Linked DNA regions of Homo sapiens: all the other regions are linked to region 2. Evidence: promoter capture Hi-C in 16 types of primary human blood cells and fetal thymus (Javierre and others, 2016). All regions are on one chromosome and are shown on one strand. Each heading gives the region's core, a stretch centred on a gene start or on the middle of the fragment in contact. The rest is flanking DNA. Distances are from core to core; before and after follow the strand shown.

Region 1 (3,564 bases), core at 273-2,772, 2.1 Mb before region 2:
CTTGTGGTCCTGCAGCCGCTGGTGCATCCGCACCCTCCCAGCCCTCACGTCTGTCTTCCTGCAGAGGGGGTGCTCCTTGAGGCAAGCACCAGTGCCCAGAACACCACCCAGGGCCTCGCAGGAGCTGAATGAGTGCTAGTGAGTGAATGAGTGGCTTAGCAGGTCACCTCCCATTCATGGGCTGGGCTAGCCGAGTTCTAAGAAACCCCTGCAGGACCCTGGAATGCCCTAATGTGCAGGACACCCTGGCCAAACCTACACCTGAGCCTGTTTCCCCATTGGACTTTGGGATTTTGATAAAGGCACTGAGGTCCCAGCAAATGCCTTGGGCTCCTCATAGGCTACTGGGGGCAGGGAAGTGCAGTGGGTCATGCCTCCCAGAGGGCTGGGGAAGGGGAGAGACTAGAACTGGAGCAGGGTTAGCGCTGGCCTGGGGGCATTCCTTGAACCCCAGAAGCAGACAAACTAGTGGTCCCCTATCTTGCTTAAGTCTAAGAAATCCAGATTTTGTTTAAAAAAAAAATCAGGGCTCAGTGGCTCACACCTGTCATCCCAGCATTTTGGGAGGCCGAGGTGGGAGGATCACTTGAGGCCAGCCTGGACAACATAGTGAGACACCATCTTTATAAAATAAATTTTTAAAAATAAAATAAAGATCAGATTCCTGGGTTTACTGAATCTGAATCTCAGGGCAAGGACCTGGGAATCTGCATTTTAAGCAAATCTCCCGGAGATTCTGGTTATTGTGGGGGCTCCTCAAACGTGATTGAGAGATGGAGAGCAGCTGGCTCTGGCGTGGGATTGCCTGGGCTCTAGTCCTGCTGCCCCACGGACTCCCAAGTGGGCGGCACCTTAGGGCAAGTTACTAAAGCGGCTGGGGTCTTGGTGACCTCATCTGTACAATGTCCATGACGCACAGCACCGGCCACAGAGAAGTTAGTGGGAGGTTTCACTTGGCATCCTTTCAGTAAAACAAGTCCCAGTCAATGATCGCGATTATTGGGTCCATCTGATATTCGGAGGCGGAGACCGCCCCGATTCACTGACCTACTACTCAAATTTACAGTTCTCAGAACTTTCCCCACCCTTTCTCTCTCCGAAGTCCTCACTGACTTCCTGAGCGCAGGGCTGGGCGCCACTGCCCGGAGAAGAGGGGCTGCGTGGCCTCCGACAGCCTAACCCCAAGCCCCCCACCCCCGCAGGCCGTCCCGGCGGAGGTCTCACTGCCAGCACCGGCTTTGGGGAGCGCTGGGTGTCCACGTACCCCGGGCCTCGCGCCTCCGCTGCCGTTCGGCGGCAAGGACGGAACCGGGCGCTGCTCCGCGCGCACCGAGAGTCGCGGGCTCGGGCCCCGCTCGGAGTCGGGGTGGTCCCCGTGGTCCCCGCCGGCGGCCGAGCCCTTCCCGAACGCCCTCAGCCGGCGTGCCCGGGCGATACCTTCGCAACCCGATCCGCGCGCGGGCCCCGGATCCTACCTGCGCGCCCCTGCTCCATTCGCCGTCCGGGCGCCCAAGCGGGAAGTGGGGGACCCCTGGGTGGCCCTTCCCTGGCCCGCGCCGCGCGGGGCTTTCCTGGGCGCGGAGACCCAGCCCGCCCCGGCTTCCTGCTCCCCGCCCCGGCGCCCGGCAGATTTGCATGCGCCGCCCCGCCCGGCGCGCCCGGCCCGGGTCCCGGCCACCTCGCGCCCCTGTCGCTGTCCCCGCCGCCGCCGCCGGACAGTCCGAGCCGCCGTCCTCTCCTGGGGGCGACCCCAGCACCTCGCTGGGTGTCTTGCCGCGCGCTTCCTCCCACGCCGTAGCCCGAGGTCACGCCCAGCGGAGAACTCTGCAGTGGATCCCCTTGGTCTCGGAATAAAACGCCCACGCCGACCAGGCCTCCAGGACCTGCTCCTGCCTGGCCTCCGCGGCCTCTTTTGCGCCGGGGCAGTTGCGTTTGGTGGGGGAGGGCTGGGCGACTGGAATCCTCCTCCCCTTCCTAACAGCCCGGCTTCCAAGTGAGAGTGGTTGCACATTCTTCAATAAATGTTTACCCAACTCCTACTCCAGCCACATTTGGATAGTAAAACAGCCCTTCAATCAGTAACTAGTACAATCTGTCGGGCACTGCAAATGTTAACTCGTTCAATCCTGGCAACTACCCTATAAGGGAGTGATACTATCACCGGTTTTACAAATCAGGAAACTGAGGCACAGAGTCCTTAAGAAATTCAAAATGGGTTGGGCAAAGTGGCTCATGCCTGTAATCCCAGCACTTTGGGAAGCTGAGGCGGGAGGATCACTTGAACCCCATAGTTCGAGACCAGCCTGGGCAACCCTGTTAGCGAGACCCCTATCTACAAAAATTGACATTTATAAAATTTTAAAAAAGAAAAGAAAGAAACTCAGAATCACTCTGCAGGTAAGCAGGAGCAGGGGTGGAGCTGGGATTCGAACACAGGCCCCATAGACCATTAACGTCTGGACACCATAAGAACCCGGATGCAGCCAGATGACTGGGGGGAAAACACTCAACAAAGTATTTCAGGTCAGGAGGGCCCAAGAAGAAAGTAGGGACCTCTTAGACCAGTGGGGCAGGTGGTCTGGAAGAGGCTTTTTGAGTAGAGGCCATTTGAGCTGAGACTCTGAAGAGCCTATGGGGGAAGACTTGTGTAGGGAGAGGGAAGAGCTAGTGCAAAGGCCCTGTGGGAACCAGCTCAGCCTGCAGGAGGAATTGCTGAAGGCCGGCATGGCTGTGGAGCCCTGAGTGAGGAAAGAGCGGAGACAGGGGAGGTGGGAGATATTTGGACTCACACTGGGCAGTGCTGAGAACCCAGAGAGTAATTTGACCCCCTGCTGCCCTCAAGGAGCTCTCAGTTTGAGGGTGGAAGCCAAGGACTGCCCAATGGGATCAAGTGCTGTGGTGGAGGGTGAGGGTTGGCTTCCCAGGGCAGGGGCCACTGCACGTCAATCATTCTTTTTTTTTTTTTGAAGATGGGGTCTCATTCCATTGCCTAGGCTGGAGTGCAGTGGGTGATCTCAGCTCACTGCAACCTCCACTTCCTGAGTTCAAGCAATTCTCCTGCCTCAGCCTCCTGAGTAGCTGGAATTACAAGCGTGCACCACCACGTCCGGCTCATTTTTGTATTTTTAGTAGACATGAGGTTTCACTATGTTGGCCAGGCTGGTATCAAACTCCTGACCTCAGGTGATCTGCCTGCCTCTGCCTCCCGAAGTGCTGGGATTACAGGTGTGAGCCACCACGCCTGGCCCATATGTCAATCATTCTTTCATGTACTTGGTCTGTCTTGGTCCTACTGTGTGTCTAACCTTGTGACAAGCGCTGATGACGCAGACCTGAAGACATGAAACAGACACAATCCCTGCCCTCTGAGACCTTACAACCAAGTGAGCAAGACAGCCACCAACCCACCCCCGGAAGTGACAGTAAAGATAAGTCAGTTCCCTGGGGTCAGGGATGGCTTCCTGGAGGAGGTGACCTCTGACCAGTGCCTGAATCAATGCAGAAAAACATGCAGGTGGAAGGGACAGCATGAGCAAATACCTGGAGGTGGCGTGGGAGTGTGGA
Region 2 (4,132 bases), core at 877-3,376:
CCTTCTGCCTCCTCGCCTTGCTCTTAATGCCCAGCCCCTTCATTAAGGACACCTGACGACTAAGCTCTGATTCTTTTGTTTTTTTTTTCTGTTTTGTTTTGTTTTTGACACAGAGTCTCACTTTGTCAACCAAGCTGGAGTGCAGTGGCACAATCTCAGCTCATTGCAACCTCCGCCTCCCGGGTTCAAGTTGAGTCTCATGCCTCAGCCTCCCAATCAGCTAGAATCACAGGCGTGTGCCACCATGCCCAGCTAATTTTTGTATTTTTAGTAGAGACGGGGTTTCGCCATGTTGGCCAGGCTGGTCTTAAACTTCTGACCTCAAGCGATCCACCTGCCTTGGCCTCCCAAAATGCTGGGATTATAGGCGTGAGCCACCACGACCAGCCTAAACTCTTGATTTTTTTAATCCTGCCCAAATTCCTATCTAAGGGATCTGGGGAGTCATGACCTACAAACCATAAATTCTCATCAGATGGGTTTTATTTAATCCTATATATGATGACTTACTTTCCATTCTGACTCTGGCATAACATTACGTGACAAAAAGAAAGTCAAAATATTTTACCCCAAAACATGTTTCCTTGCCCTATTTTGCAATTTCTTCCATAAAGGACAGCATTTTCCCCCAAAAGCTATCCTTTGTGGGGTAAAATGTGCATCTGTAAAGAACATCTATTAACATAGCTAGATGTTTTTCTTCCAGGCCCTCCCAATCCTAAACGGATTAACTAAAAGTCTAACACCTTTTGAAGATCTGAATAGGAAACATTTGTCATCTATTATCTCTAAGAGCAGCCACCATAAGACTTCAAAAGAACCTTAGTCTCCACTATCTTTTATCTTAACCTGAACACTTCCTTTCTATCAATCCCAGGTCTTCAGACAAACTCAACCAATTGTCAACTAGAAAATATTTAAATTTACCTATAGCCTGGAAGCCCCCACCCCCACCCCTTTGCGTTGTCCCGCCTTCCTGGACCAAACCAATGTATTTAATGTATTTGACTGATGTCTCATGCCAACCTAAAACATAAAACCAAGCTGCACCCCGACCACCTTGGGCACATGTTCTCAGGGCCTCGAGAGGGCTGTATCACAGGCTGTGGTTACTCGTATTTGGCTCACAATAAATCTCTTCAAATATTTTGCACGGTTTTACTTTTCGTCAACACTCCCTATTACCTGTAACTTCTCAGTTTCCAAGAGCTGAGAGCTTGATTTGCGAGCTACCCTCCCACTTCTCCAATTCCATGGCCACTGAATGAAGGCTGCACTGCCTGATACTCACACTTGGTCTCATGCGCTGGCTCTGCAACAACGGACAGACAAGAGTTCCTTTGGGGGAAACCAGCTTCCCAGGTGACACTGTTGCCTCTGCTACATGCGCAAAGCGCAGCCTGGCACATAGTAGGTGCTCAAGAGAGGGAAAGCCGGGTCTATGAATTCAGGGACAGGGGCAGCACCAGAAGAGAGCAAGCTGGGGCCTGGCTGGCTGAACCCTGGCCCCGAGACCCCTGTGACCCCCCTTCTCATCAGGATGCACCACATGAACCTCCCCAACGCGAGGGCCAACAAGTGGCCCCAGATGAGACCGCGCCGGGAAGGGCCTGGGGCCACGCACAGATACTTCCGCCAGAAAAACACCACGCCGCGCCGTGCACCTCCGCCAGAGGAAGAAGGTCCCGCAGGGTCGGGGTAACCGCTCCATCCCCGACCGCAACCCTGGACCAGGTACAAGGAACAGATCCCTCCACCGGAACGCCGTGTCCCTCCGCCAGACACAGGAGTCCCCGCTCCCGTGCTCTCCTTCCCCGGCAGCCAGGCCCCGGTGCCGACTCCTCCGCCTCAGGGAGGCCCCGCCGCCGCCTAGATTCTCCGCCTGAAGCGGGACTCGCGACGGCAGGTTCCCTAGAATCCCTCTGTGTCCCTCCGCCCCGGGGAGGACCCTCCGCGCCCCTCTACAATCTTAAAGTCCCTCAGCGACGAGTCACCGCGCCGCGCGCTCTCGCGAGAGTCCACCGCACGGCCCCCCCCCCCTCCCCCAGCCCCTCGCCCGCCAGGACGCCTCGCGCGGGCCCCGCGGCGCTCGGTGGCAGGCGGCGCATGCGTGACTGCGGTTCCCAGCGCCCCCCGCGCTCTCCGCGGGCCGAGTGGACGAGGCCGAACGCGAGCAGCCTGCCGCTGCCCCCTGCGAGCCCTGGCTTCGCCCCGCAGCTCTTCTCCCTTCCGGGCGGAACAGTTTTTGCGGCCTTTCCTCGGCGGCAGCGGTTTCCTCAGGACGGTCGGGGCCGTCGTGGGCCCGAAAGAGCCCGGCGCCGCTCTCGGAATCCGGCGGCCCCAGCGGCACCCGCGGCGGCCTGGACGTGCTGCGGTGACCCGAGCCCGGAACCTGGCGCCGGGCGGGGCCTGCACATCCGGCCCCACCCACTCGGGGACTCGCCTCTCCGCGCCCGACCCGGGAGTAGCGGACACACCCCCTCCCGGCCCGGCTGTCCGCCTCCGCCCAGCCTTTCCTCAGCCTGCTTCATTTTTCTCCCAGTCGTCCAGCCTCCCGGTTTCCGACTTTGCACTAAGAGGGATGCACTCTGGAAAACCACATTGCGCGGTCACATCTTGTTTGGAGAAGAGGCCAGGCTTTTGCATCTTAGAGTATACGTTCACCTTTTCAAGGGCCTGGCATAGATTTGATTAATCAGCCTGGAATACCCTGTTCCTGCCGACCTGGCCGTTTTTACCTCCGTACCTTATCACACTCCCAGGAACATTAAGCAGGGAGCGCTTGGAGTCTTCTTTGGGTCCCCACCTTGAGCTAGACGTGAAGTTGACCCCTGGGCTGCAGCATGGCTGTCGCCCTCGACTCTCAGATCGACGCGCCCCTGGAGGTTGAGGGATGCCTAATAATGAAGGTGGAAAAGGACCCTGAGTGGGCATCAGAGCCCATTCTGGAAGGATCGGATAGCTCTGAGACCTTCCGCAAATGCTTCAGGCAATTCTGTTATGAGGATGTGACTGGACCCCATGAAGCTTTCAGTAAACTCTGGGAACTTTGCTGCCGGTGGCTGAAGCCAGAAATGCGTTCCAAGGAGCAAATACTTGAGCTGCTGGTGATTGAGCAGTTTCTCACCATTTTACCCGAGAAGATTCAGGCTTGGGCACAGAAGCAGTGTCCGCAAAGTGGAGAGGAAGCGGTGGCCCTGGTAGTGCATTTGGAGAAAGAGACTGGAAGACTAAGACAGCAGGTGAGAGAGGATTTTCCAAATTTTTGTACTTAGAAAAAAGGGAATGGGAAAGGCATGTGGGCAGGGATGTATTGCAGAAAGACGTGCTCTTCAGAGAAAGATAAATGGTACTAATAAAAGACCCTATAAGGGGGTCTTTTCACTTTAAGTGAATCCACTTAAAAGGGGATCAGAATTTCACATGAAATAGAAAAATAAAAGCTTTGATTGAAATATTATCTTACAATGGAAACCAGACATTATTCACCTAAGCATTTATCGTCATCTTTGGCATAATGTTTGCAACAAAACAATATAAGAGAACAATATGGTTTTGCGTCACAGAGGTTCACTTACGCATTTTGATCAAAAAAGGCTATTCTGTTCCCCCTTTAAAAAAAAAAAAAAAAGACTTCATCCGTTATCCCAGAGCCGTCTCCAAGCGTTTTACTGTTGCACTCAGTGTCTTCTGAAGTGCTCTCATGCCTTCATTTCTGTCACTCTCCTCCAGTCTAACTGCCACATCTTCATTTCTCAGTGGCTTGCATGCTCTTCTAGTTGTTCTTCAACCTCACTTTCATGAACCTCGTGAAATCCTGCAGCATTTGCAAGATTTGCGGTTTCACCTTGCATCAGACTTGCATTGTGTAGAGATCTATCAGCAGGTTGCTGTATTGGTCAGGGATAGACAGATAGATGTGGATATTAATTTTGTAAGTTTTCATTTCACTACTGTATATATTCATGTCCTGGTAACTTCTTTGCGAACGTAACAGATATAGAGTCAAATAATATCTATTCTAGCAACAAGGAGGCTCTTTCACTCCTGACAGATTTCCTTCTCTGTTTAGTATTAAATATTATTCTGGCCAGGCGCGGTGGCTCACATCTGTAATCCCAGCACTTTGGGA
Region 3 (3,907 bases), core at 221-2,720, 2.3 Mb before region 2:
CATCAGCTTCTATGAGGAGCCTCGGGAGCGACCCGACCTACAGCTCCAGGACCGGTCAGCGGGCGGCCTGGCCTGGCGGGCGGGCGGGCGGGCGCAGGGCCCGGGGGCTGATGGAGCTGGGGGCAGGGCGGGGGAATGGAGTGGGGCTGTGCAAGTACCGGAGGCCTGTTGATTGAGTTGGGGCACGGCGGTAAGGCTAATCTGGGGTCCCTCAGGCCTGGCAGGGCCCTGGAGTCCGATGGAGTTGGCGGGGGGAGGGGGAGAATCTAGTGATGTCCCGTTTTGTCCCTGTGTGTGTTTTGGGGTAATGGCGAACAGGATTGGGGATATTCTTCAGGCTTAAAAGAATGTTTCCTTTACATTGGAGGATAGGATTAGAGCAGGAAAGACACTTTAGAGCCAGACTGGAGACTCCTGAGATCAACAGACCCTCATGGTATATTCATTCGGTGCAGATAGCCTAGGGCAACTCGAGATCTGCGTATCAGGACAATTAGCGATAATGCTAAAAGCTGACATTTATCAGGGACTTCATGGGTGAGGTGCTGTTCTTTTTTTTCTTTTTTGAGATAGAGTCTCTCTCTGTGGCCCAGGCTGGAGTGCAGTGGCGCGATCTTGGCTCACTGCAACCTCCGTCCGCCTCCCAGGTTCAAGCGATTCTCGTGCCTCAGCCTCCTGAGTAACTGGGATTACAGGCATGTTCCACCACGCCCGGCTAATTTTTGCATTTTTAGTAGGTATGGGGTGTCATCATGTTGGCCAGGCTGGTCGCGAACTCCTGACCTCAGACAATCCGCACCTCTCGGCCTCCCAAAGTGCTGTGATTACAGGCGTGAGCCACGGCGCCCGGCCACATTGCTGTTCTAAGAATCTATTCTAGAAGCTTTAGGAGCTTAAACTCACTTGATCCTCACTTGATTAAACTCCGTTAAACAGGAGATTAAATTCACTTGATCCTCACCTATGAGGTAGGTGCTGTTATCGTCCTCATTTTACAGAGGAAGACACTGAGTCACAGAGAGGGATTATGTAACCTAAGGTTCTGGGGGCAATAAGTGACTAAGAATTGATTTGAACCCAGGCTATTTTCAGCGTCTGTGCTCTTAAGCCATATTGTGAGGGTCAGGGGAGGTTCCAAGAGGTAATAATGTCCAAGACAGGCCGGGTGCAGCAGCTCATGCCTGCAATCCCAGTACTTTGGGAGGCTGAGGTGGATGGGTCACAAGGTCGGCAGTTCAAGACCCGCCTGACCAACGTGGTGAAACCCTATCTCTACTAAAAATACAAAAATTAGCCTGGCGTGGTGGCGCATGCCTGTATCCCAGCTACTCAGGAGGCTGAGGCAGGAGAATCACTTGAACCTGGGAGACAGAGGTTTCAGTGAGCTGAGATTCAGCCATTGCACTCCAGCCTGGGTGACAGAGTGAGACTCTGTCTCAAAAATAAAATAAAATAATGTTCGAGACAAAACTTAAAGGTTGGATTTAGGCAGCCAGTTGGCAAAGAGGACTGTTGGACAGAGAACAGCAAATGTGAAGTAAGTGGCTGAAGTGTGGAATTGGAGGTAGGGAATGAGGAATAGCTAGGACTGTGCTAAGATCCTTAATACAACATGTTATTTAATTTTTACAGAAACCTTAGGAGATGGGTAATATTCTCCCCATTTTCCTGAAGAGAAAATCGAGGCCCTGAGGGGTCAAGTGGCATGCTAAAAGTCAACTAGCAAGGGAAGAACCCAGACTTTGAGGAAGGTCTGAGTTCAGATTCCAGCCAAATTGGACTGGAATCAAGTCTTTTAACCTACTTAAAGAGTTTATCAGCCTGTAATCCCAGCACTTTGAGAGGCAGAGGTGGGCGGATAACTTGAGGTCAGGAGTTCAAGACCAGTCCAGCCAACATGGTGAAACCCCATGTCTACTAAAAATACAAAAATTAGCTGGGCGTGGTGGTAGACGCCTGAAATCCCAGCTAGGTGGAGGCTGCAGTGAGCCGAGATTGTGCCACTGCACTCCAGCCTGGGTGACAGAGGGAGAATCCATCTCAAAAAAAAAGCTTATCCTTTATCAAAAGGACAGTGAGAAGTCACTGAAGAGAGGGTCAGACTAGGGGCAAAGAGTGAAGTTGAGAGATTTTTAGTAATCTAGTCATGGTCTGGCTTACCATGGTGGGCGTGGGGATGAAGAGCACAGGCAGTCAAGACATAGTAGGCTGCTGTTTGGGCACCTGAGCGAACCCTGATTCTCATCTCTGAGGCTGGGAACACGGAAGAACAGCGTGGGGGTTGAGTCTGGGGGAGGTGGGGACTTTGCTGAAGAGACATGTGACACATTTAGCTTCAGGTTCTTTTGAGTTGTCCAAGTGAAGAGTCTTAATTAGTAAACATCTGGCTTCGTGGGAGTGAAAGCAGGCCAGAGGGAGGGACTGAGCTAGACATCTGTGAGTCATTCCTAGCAGCTGGTAATTAAAGCAGCTGGCTAAGATCAGCCCTAAGAGAGAGTGTAGTGTGGTTGGAGGTCTTGAGATATAGCTCTGCAGTGCACCTACATTTCAAGGCTGGATGGAGGGTGAGGGACTTTCAAAAGAAGACTGAGGCGGTGTGGCTGGAGAGGTAGAGGACAGTCAGGTCAGAGTGGTGTTCTGGAAGTTTGGGAGGAGACAGGATCATTTAAGAACGGAGGGTTGGGCTGGGTGTGGTGAATCATGCCTGTAATCCCAGCACTTTGGGAGGCCGAGGCAGGTGGATCATTTGGCCAACATCGTGAAACCCTCTCTCTACTAAAAATACAAAAATTAGCTGGGTGTGGTGGCAGGTGCCTGTGATCCCAGCTACTAGGGAGGCTGAGGCAGGAGAATCGCTTGAACCCAGAAGGTAGAGGTTGCAGTGAGCCGAGATTGCGCCACTGCACTCCAGCCTGGGTGACAAGATCAAAACTCAAGTCTTAAAAAAAAGGAATGGAGGGTTAAATGGTGCAGATAACACAGAGGGGGCAAGGAAGGAAAGGGCTGAAACATGTACATAGGATTTAGCCGCAATTAGACTAGTGTAGGATATGAGTGAGATTTCAAAATAAAACTCGACAAGCAGCCAGGCAAGGTGGCTCACACCTGTAATCCTAGCACTTTGCAAGGCTGAAGTGGGCAGATTACTTGAGCCCGGTAGTTCAAGACCAATCTGGGCAACATAGTGAGGGGAAAAAAAATTATATATATATATATGTATGTATTTTTTTTTTTTTTCAAAAAAAAAAAAACTTGACAAGCTTGGCTAACTGCATGAAAGAAGCACAAATGAAAAATGTCTCCATGGTGTTGTAAGAGGCACATGGAAGAAAGCGGTAGTAAGAGGGGAAAGAAGGGACTTAATTGGAGCTGGGGAGAGGTAATCATATTTGGAATGGGAGGCATTTAATAGACAAGTGAAGACATTGGATCTGTATTTGGAGAAAAAGGACTGAGGATTCAAAGGTGAGACTTGTTAACATGCAGGCGGTAATGCAAACCATGAAAATGGGTTAGGATATTAGAGAGATAACTAAGGAGAGATGGAAAGATGAGATCTTAAAGGGAGGAAAGCTTTGGCCACTTGTGGTGGCTCCCACCTGTAATCTCAGCACTTTGGGAAGCTGAGGCGGGTGGATCACCGAGGTCAGGAGTTCGAGACCACCCTGACCAACATGGTGAACCGTCATCTCTACTAAAAATACAAAATTAGCCGGGCGTGGTGGCACACCCCTATAATCCCAGCTCCTTGGGAGGCTCAGGCAGGAGAATTGCTTGAACCTGGGAAGTGGAGGTTGCAGTGAGCCAAGATCATGCCATTGGACTCTAGCCTGGGCAACAAGAGCAAAACTCCATCTCAAAAAAGCGGAGGAAAGCCTTGAATCATTTCGTCCAACTTGGTGGTTTG
Region 4 (3,997 bases), core at 956-3,455, 2.1 Mb before region 2:
TGAGGAAAGGCCAGCAGAGGGAGGCAGGTGAAGACACAGGGGAGTGATGGTGTTTTAGGGTCCAGAGGGAGAAGAGAGCTCAGCCTGGGAGAGAGGGAATGACCCCGCATCAGGAATGGCTGCATCATTGGAGGGGCACTGTGCAAAATAAAAATGCAGGTCTTCTTATTCAAAAAGGGCTGATAATTTGGCCAGGCGCGGTGGTTCACGCTTGTAATCCCAGCACTTTGGGAGGCCAAGGCGGGCGGATCACTTGAGTCCAGCAGTTTGAGACCAGCCTGGCCAACATGGTGAAACCCCGTCTCTACTAAAAATAAAAAATTAGCTGGGCATGGTGGCTCATGCCTGCAATCCCAGCTACTTGGGAGGCTGAGGCAGGAGAATTGCTTGTACTCGGGAGGCAGAGGTTGCAGTGAGCCGAGATTGAGCCACTGCACTCCAGCCTAGGGGACAAGAGCGAGACTCCGTCTCAAAAAGAAAAAACAAAAGGGCTGAGAAATCAAGATGGTCACTCTTGGTTCCTGGATTAGAAGTGGGCTGAGTTGTGGCTTCTGGCTGCCCAGCAGATACCTCTGGGGTAGGAATGGCTGTCACCATGCTCCACCCCAAGGTCCCGTGAGGTGAGCTACTGACCTTGATGATCCTTTGCACCTGTGCCCAGGCCTCCTTCAAGGGCAGAAGGCAGCAATGGTCATGGATGGTGGTGGAATGGGGAGGATGAGTAGGGCCTGGTGTGCTGGGGACAGAGCAGCAGGTGGCCAGGAGCCTGTACCAGGGAAGCAGGCAGGTGGCAGATGTCCCAGGGAAGCAGGCAGGAGGTGGGACCCTGTGTGAGCTGAGGCTCCAAGCCCTCAATGGGTGCTCCTTGGTCCCATTAAACCTCCCTATAAAACACAACTTCAGAGATAAAATTTTTAAGAATTTCTTTTTCTTTTTTTATTTTTTTTTGAAACAAAGTCTCGCTCTGTTGCTCAGGCTGGAGTGCAGTGGCACAGTCTTGGCTCACTGCAACCTCCACCTCCCGGGTTCAAGTGATTCTCCTGCCTCAGCCTCCCTGAGTAGCTGGGATTACAGGCATGCACCACCATGCCTGGCTAATTTTTGTATTTTTAGTAGAGACGGGGTTTCACCATATTGGCCAGGCTGGTCTCAAACTCTTGACTTCGAGTGATCCGCCCACCTTGGCCTCCCAAAGTGCTGGGATTACAGGTGTGGGCCACTGCGCCTGGCCAAGAATTTCAAAACTGGGACTTCAGAGCATGACACTGAAGAGTAGGGGTCCTCCGAGCAGGGGGGTACGGGCTGCTGCCTGGCGCACAGCTGTGGAGCCAGCCTGCCCTACGTCCACTCTAACAAGAAAGGGTGGATGCCGATATGGAATGGGCAGGAATTTGGCAGGATCCTCTGGAAGTGAAGATTGAGTGCCAATAAAGAGGGAGAGGATGGGGATTGGGGAAGGAGCTTGAGGAAGAGTCCAGAGCCTAAAGTTGGATGCGTGAATGCACCTGCACGTTCATTTCCCATTGCTTCTCTGACAAATTTCCACAAGTTTAGTGGCCTAAAACTGAAATTTATGATCTTGCAATTCCAGAGGTCAGAAGTCTGAAACTGGTCTCACTGAGCTCAAAATCAGGGTGTTAACAAGGCTGTGTTCATTCCAGAAACTCTAGGGAAGTCTGTTCCTTGACTTTTCCAGTTTCAAGTGGTCACCTGCATTCCTTAGCCCATGGCCCTTCCCTCCATCTTCAAAGCCAGCAGCATAATATTTTGAAATCTCTCTCTGACTTGGCTTCTCCTGCATCTCTCACTTATGAAGATCCTTGGGATTATATTGGGCCTGTCTGGATAATTAAGGATAATCTCCCTCTACATCTCAGGTTCAGTTGATTAGCAACCCTGCTTCCATCTGTAACCTTAATCCCCCCCTTGCCATGTAATGTAACATGTTCACAGGTTCCAGGGATTGGGACATGGACATCTTGGGGGGTTCATTATTGTACCTACTACAATTTTTAAGGTTGCTTTATGACTGCAAAAGAAAACTCACAGTGGTTTAAAGAAAAGCACACTTACAGTTTATTTAAGAATTTAAGGTTGGTTTGATCACTTGGTGATGTAATCAAAGCCCCAGGCAGGCCTTCTTCTTCTTCCACTCCACCATATTCAGAATGCCTCCTTTCATCTCCAGGCTTGTCTCCTCATGATTGCAAAAGCACCATCCAAAGCAGAAAGGAAGGTGGCAAAGGAGCCTTCTCCTCCATGCTGCTTTTTGATTAGGAAGGAGAACTGCTGACTTGCTCTGTGGTTCCATGGCAGAGAGGAAGGTCAGGCAGCCCAGCTATGTTGACCAACTCAAGCTAAATTTGCTGCTAGAAATCAGGAAATCATGGATGGTGGTGGAAGGGGGAGGATGCGTAGGGCCTGGTGTGCCCAGGGCAGAGCAGCAGGTGGCCAAGAGCCTGTCCCAGGAAATGCCAGTTCCTGGGTGGGATCACGCTAAGGTGGGTCATCAGTATATAGGAGTGGTGGTTCAGGGCAGCCAGAATCAGAGATCAGCCTATAGCTGGGATCAAAGATCCATCTGTGGTGAGGGTCAGGGGTCAGCATGTGGCTGGGGCCAGCCTGCAACCAGGATCATGAGTAAGTCAGTAACATGGGTCGGGACTCAGTTCCTGGCTTGAGTCAGAGCTGTTCTGTGGCTGAGGACAGGAGGTGGACTGTGGCCAGGATCAGAAGTCAGTCTGTGGCTGGATCAGGGTCATTCTGTGGTTGGAGTCAGATATCATAATGGAGTTGGGATCAATCAGTTTAGTCTTCTCTGTCTGTCTTTCTCTCTGCATCTCTGCTTCTCTCTGTCTCATTCTCCTTTGCTGTAAACACCTGTTGGAAGCTCAGCAACTTGGGTCCATGGGGAAGAGGGAAGTTGAGTCTGGGCAAGGTCCTATAAGTCCCGGTATGGAAGAACATAAGGGAAAAAGAGAAAAATGTCAGGAATATAAAGATATTCCCTAGAAAAATGTCAGGAATATAAATATATGTATGTATGATGAGAAATGAATGATATAAAACCGCAAATACGCAAACACTGACTCTGCATGTAAACAACACACAGAAGTGGCACAAACAGATACAAACACAAGTGGGTTGAATGATGGGATTGGGACAATTTTTTGTCCTGGATTACTGTTGCTCCATTCTGCCCTTTTTGTAATAAAGTCAAATTAAATTTAGAATGTCATTATTTCCTCTAATTATGTTTTATACCCTCACCTCCCACAAAATCCACAGACATATTCAGTGTAATATTAAGGATAATGTTAGCAGACTAGGCATGGTGGCTCACATCTGTAATCCTAGCACTTTGGGAGGCCGAGGTGGATGGATTGCTTGAACCCTAGGAGTCTGGGACTAGCCTAGGCAACATAGTGATTCCCTGTCTCTACAAAAAATTAAAAAACAAATTAGCCAGGCTTAGTGGTGTGTGCACCTGTGGTCACAGCTACTTGAGAGGCTGAAGTGGGAGAATCACATGAGCCCAGGTGTTCAAGGCTGCAGTGAGCCGGGATTGGGCCACTGCGCTCCAGCCTGGGTGACAGAGAAAGACCCTGTCTCAAAAAAAAAAAAAAAAGAAGAAGAAGAAGAATGTTAGCAAATACTTTTAAGGCATTAACTATTTGCAGGCATAGTTCTTTTTTTTTGAGACAGAGTCCCACTTGTTGCCCAGGCTGGAGTGCAGTGGCACAATCTCCGCTTGCTGCAACCTCTGCCTCCTGGGTTCAGGCAATTCTCCTGCCTCATCCTCCCGAGTAGCTGGGATTACAGGCACCCGCCACCATGTCTGGCTGATTTTTGTATTTTTAATAGAGACAGGGTTTCACCATGTTGGCCAGGCTGGTCTCAAACGCCTACCTCAGGCAATCTGCCCACCTTGGCCTCCCATAGTGCTGGGATTACAGGCGTGAGCCACTGTGCCCAGCCGCAGGCATAGTTCTAAGGA
Region 5 (3,554 bases), core at 591-3,090, 2.1 Mb after region 2:
AGTTAATTTTTGATCCACCTGCCTCGGCCTCCCCAAGTGCTGAGATTACAGGCGTGAGCCACCGTGCCCAGCTGAGATCTCAAAATTAGAAAGGGAGAATGATCAGGAGAACTGACTACTGTAGGTCCACCCCCCGCCCCCCACCCCACACTGCCCCTCTTTGCTTACAATTGCCTGTAAGTAGCCACAGCATTTGTAAACTTTTCGAGGTCAGAGCCTAGTATTTAAGTTTGGTTTTCTCCTCTTTTCCAAAATGTGAAAATCAGTTTCTACAGCATCTTTGTATGTGAACATTTCCATTGCTTTTTATGAGTTTGTGTTCACTTTTTTATCCATTAAGCTGTGAACAGAAATGGGTCAATAATTCTAGAAGTACAGAGACTGATTTATAGGCATGCTTTGGCAGACATGAACAGATTCTTAGAGGCCTGGCTTTTTAAAAGTAATCTCCTGAACCTTTAGTAGGTTTCACTCTACATTCATTCATTCACCTCCCATTTATTGAAGGCTTACTTAATCAGTTAGGAATGCCTTCAGCCCAAGAAAGGAAAATCCCTAATGATAGTGCCTTAAGCAATGAAAACGTTGCAATTGGCAATTGGCACACACAGTGATTCCGGAGGTGGATGGTTCTATGGTTCAGTGGCTCGTTGGGCCCAACAAGGATTCAGACCATTTCTGTATTTCCACCTGTTGTCTTTTTAGCTATCATTGGCTTTTTGTTCTTAGGTTTGTCACCTCATGGTTGTCCAGTGATGGCAGCCACTGCACCTGGCATTCTACCCAGGACGGCAGGAAGTCATTAGGGAAATAAAAATTCTTCCAGAAGCCCCCTCAGCAGGCTTCTGCTGATATTTCATTGGCTATAACCATGTCAATTGGCTGTCACGGAGGCTGGAGGGTGGGCATTTGGGTTTTCCTGTCTTCACAGAGGAGATGAGTAAAGGAGGGGTTTACCTCCCAGGGAGCTATGAAGAGCTGAGTCGAGTAGGATCTAGGAAGTTCCCTGAGACAGCGCTTCTCATGCGTCAGTGTGCACATAATTCACCTGGGGATCTTGCTACAAAGGAAATTGAGATTCGGTAGAGCTGGAGCGGTGCCCAAGATTCTGCATTTCTAACAAGCTCCCTGGTGATGCCAGTGCTTTTGGCTCAAGGACCATCCTGTGTATAGCAGGCATCAAGGAACAAGGAAAGCATTACCAAAAAGGTGGCTCCTGAGCAGTGTTCTGAAAGATGAATAGAAATTTGCAGGGCAAGGAAGTGGTGGAGTTGCATGAAAGGGCGTGTGGTTTTGGGGAATAGACATTTAGTGGCTGGCTGCACCATAGAGAGCAGTGGGGGTGCAGGAAGCCTGGGAGAAGAGTGTTGGAAACTCACTGTGAAGGGCTTCGTGAGCTATGCTGGTTTGGATTTCATCCTCTGCAAGTTGAAAATCCAGAGGTGATTTTTAAGCAAGGAAGTGATATAATTAGATTCTTTTCCCCTTTTTATTCCCCCGGTTAGGTAACTCTGGCAAATTGATTACTTTTTAAAAAAAGGTTTTATTTTAGCTAAATTTGATGGGTATTATTTTGAATATAAAGAAAGTTGAATGCTAAGGCAGGACGCAGTGGCTCATGTCTGTAATCCCGGCACTTTGGGAGGCCAAGGTGGGTGGATCACTTGAGACCAATAGTTCCAGACCAGCCTGGACAACATGGTGAAACCCCATCTCTACTAAAAAAATACAAAAAGTAGCCGAGCGTGGTGGCACACACCTGTAATCCCAGCTACTCGGGAGGCTGAGGCACGAGAATCTCTTGAACCCAGGAGGTGGAGGTTGCAGTGAGCAGAGATCATGTCACTGCGCTCCAGCCTGGGTGACAGAGTGAGACTCTGCCTCAAAAAAAGGAAAAAAAAAAAAGAAAGGTAAACACCAGAAGGTGGACCTGAGGCATACCTCACTGTGCTTCGCCTGCTTGGGGTGGACATCGTTATTTCATTCAGATATTCTTCACTTTCACATCGCTCACATTCAGCCTTAGAATCCTGCTCAGTTCTAGAAGGGCTCCAGGCAGCCACCACCACCTAGTTGAAGTTGGCAGAGGAGATAAAACCAATTTGCCATCTTGAGATAGTTACCTTGAGGTTAGAAAAGCACTTACTATGTCTTTGTGCTTTTATTATCTTAAAACTTTAAGTTACTAATGCTTTTCTTTGTAAGTTTTTCAATTAGAGTTCTTTCTTCCTTTTTAACCACATTGATTTGAGTTTTAGGAGCTTGCCAAGTAGATGGTTTTTGGTTTTGGATGGGCTAGATGGTTGTTAAAGTTGGGTTTTCATTTCCCAGGATGAAATGAGTTGACTAGCTCAACCTTGATATGCTGTAAAAAATGTCTCTAGCCATTACCTTTATCCTTTCTCTTTTCACACAGATTTTTTGTTTGTTTGTTTCCTACTCTTAGAGCACTGGTTTTCAACACGGGCACTTTTGCCTGTCCTCACCCCACCCTGCCCCCACCCCCTGGGACATTTGTCGATGTCTGGAACCCTACTTGGTTGTCACAGCTGGGATCAGGGTGCTACTGGCATGTGGTGGTAGATTCCAGGGATGCTGCTAAATGTCACACAATGTGCAGGACAGCCCCCCTTACTAAAGGGTTTTCACCCCAAAGTGTCAGTAGTGCTGAGGCTGAGAAACTGTTTGGAGGAAAGTTTGGAGACTCAGCGCAAGTTTCCTTTTACTTCCCCAGCCTTTAAAATGGTTACCTTGTTATCTCTCGCGCTCTCTCTTTCTCTCTCTCTCCCCCCCCCCAACCTCTCCCTCTCTCTTTCTCCTTCTCTGTCTCTGAGTGTGTATATGTGTTTGCAGCAGCACTAGGGTAAAACTTGGGCTTCACTGGCAGGACCCTTGCATCACTTTCCTAGTAAAATAGTGAGAGTAAATAAATCACTTTGAATACATAATATGCCATTTTAAAGGGAATCAGCTTATTGCTTTCATAGGAGCATGGGTGCCCCAGATTCTTACAAATGCTTTCTGAGTTTTAGAGCTCAGAGCCGTTTTGCAGCAAGTAAAAAGATGGATGGTCATCTTTCAAGCAAGAAAGATAAATTTTATGGCAGCAGTTTTTAAATTGTGCTGGCAAAGAACAGCTAGCACAGAGTGATCTATTGATAAAAGAATTGTGGGGACTCCTTCCAGATTTGCAGTGAAACAAATGGTAATTGATGAATAGAATTCTCTCTCCCATTTTTTTTTCCTTGAACTTTGGTGCCTTGTGGTGCTTATTTATTAGTGAGAATTCTCAAGTCACAAAAGGAATAAACTTGTATAAGAGACTAGTGGTGAACAACCTGGCAATCAGAGGCTCACACTTGCTGAGTTTCCCAGCCTGCTTTTCCATGCACTCATGCTGGGGGTTCTGGTGCTATGCTGCAAACCCATGGTACACAGTTTTTTTCTTGTTAGTGTCAAGCTCTTTAGTATACTGATACTTCAGTGTTTTCCACAAAGCACACTGACTTCAGGGTGTCCCTTGGAAAAAATGAAATTGTGTAGGTCACATTTAG

Evidence for each region. Contacts are between HindIII fragments. The CHiCAGO score rates a contact against its expected background, and 5 or more counts as called.
Region 1: the fragment with the promoter of IL4R here is called in contact with the fragment with the promoter of ZKSCAN2 in region 2 in 1 of 17 cell types (endothelial precursors); the score reaches 7.1 in endothelial precursors.
Region 3: a contact is called between a fragment that was not itself captured here and the fragment with the promoter of ZKSCAN2 in region 2, in 2 of 17 cell types (naive CD8 T cells and total B cells). The highest score is 6.6, in naive CD8 T cells.
Region 4: a contact is called between a fragment that was not itself captured here and the fragment with the promoter of ZKSCAN2 in region 2, in 1 of 17 cell types (total B cells). The highest score is 5.9, in total B cells.
Region 5: a contact is called between a fragment that was not itself captured here and the fragment with the promoter of ZKSCAN2 in region 2, in 1 of 17 cell types (naive CD8 T cells). The highest score is 5.3, in naive CD8 T cells.

What each region holds. Positions count from the first base shown.
Region 1 is chr16:27,311,932-27,315,495 of GRCh38, reverse strand. It overlaps IL4R (interleukin 4 receptor), which reads right to left and starts at 1,522. Exons shown (of 11, transcript NM_000418.4): 1 at 1,476-1,522. RefSeq lists silencers at 782-831, 1,272-1,481, 1,502-1,801 and enhancers at 1,579-2,309, 3,132-3,564. The HindIII fragment of the contact is 16,225 bases long and covers 1-3,564 here.
Region 2 is chr16:25,255,839-25,259,970 of GRCh38, reverse strand. It overlaps ZKSCAN2 (zinc finger with KRAB and SCAN domains 2), which reads left to right and starts at 2,126. Exons shown (of 7, transcript NM_001012981.5): 1 at 2,126-3,242. The coding sequence starts at 2,844. ZKSCAN2-DT (ZKSCAN2 divergent transcript) reads right to left here and starts at 2,394. Exons shown (of 1, transcript NR_170220.1): 1 at 1-2,394. RefSeq lists enhancers at 1,265-1,344, 1,465-1,784, 2,200-2,760 and silencers at 1,995-2,194, 2,275-2,514. The HindIII fragment of the contact is 3,031 bases long and covers 1-3,029 here.
Region 3 is chr16:27,545,817-27,549,723 of GRCh38, reverse strand. GTF3C1 (general transcription factor IIIC subunit 1) reads left to right here. Exons shown (of 37, transcript NM_001520.4): 1 at 1-54. Among named protein-coding and RNA genes, the nearest start is that of GTF3C1, 2.1 kb to the left of the region's middle. The HindIII fragment of the contact is 1,169 bases long and covers 886-2,054 here.
Region 4 is chr16:27,368,619-27,372,615 of GRCh38, reverse strand. No RefSeq gene overlaps it. Among named protein-coding and RNA genes, the nearest start is that of IL21R, 32 kb to the left of the region's middle. RefSeq lists a silencer at 2,602-2,802. The HindIII fragment of the contact is 4,499 bases long and covers 1-3,997 here.
Region 5 is chr16:23,142,828-23,146,381 of GRCh38, reverse strand. All of the region lies in intron 1 of USP31 (ubiquitin specific peptidase 31), which reads left to right. Among named protein-coding and RNA genes, the nearest start is that of USP31, 4.8 kb to the left of the region's middle. The HindIII fragment of the contact is 4,574 bases long and covers 1-3,554 here.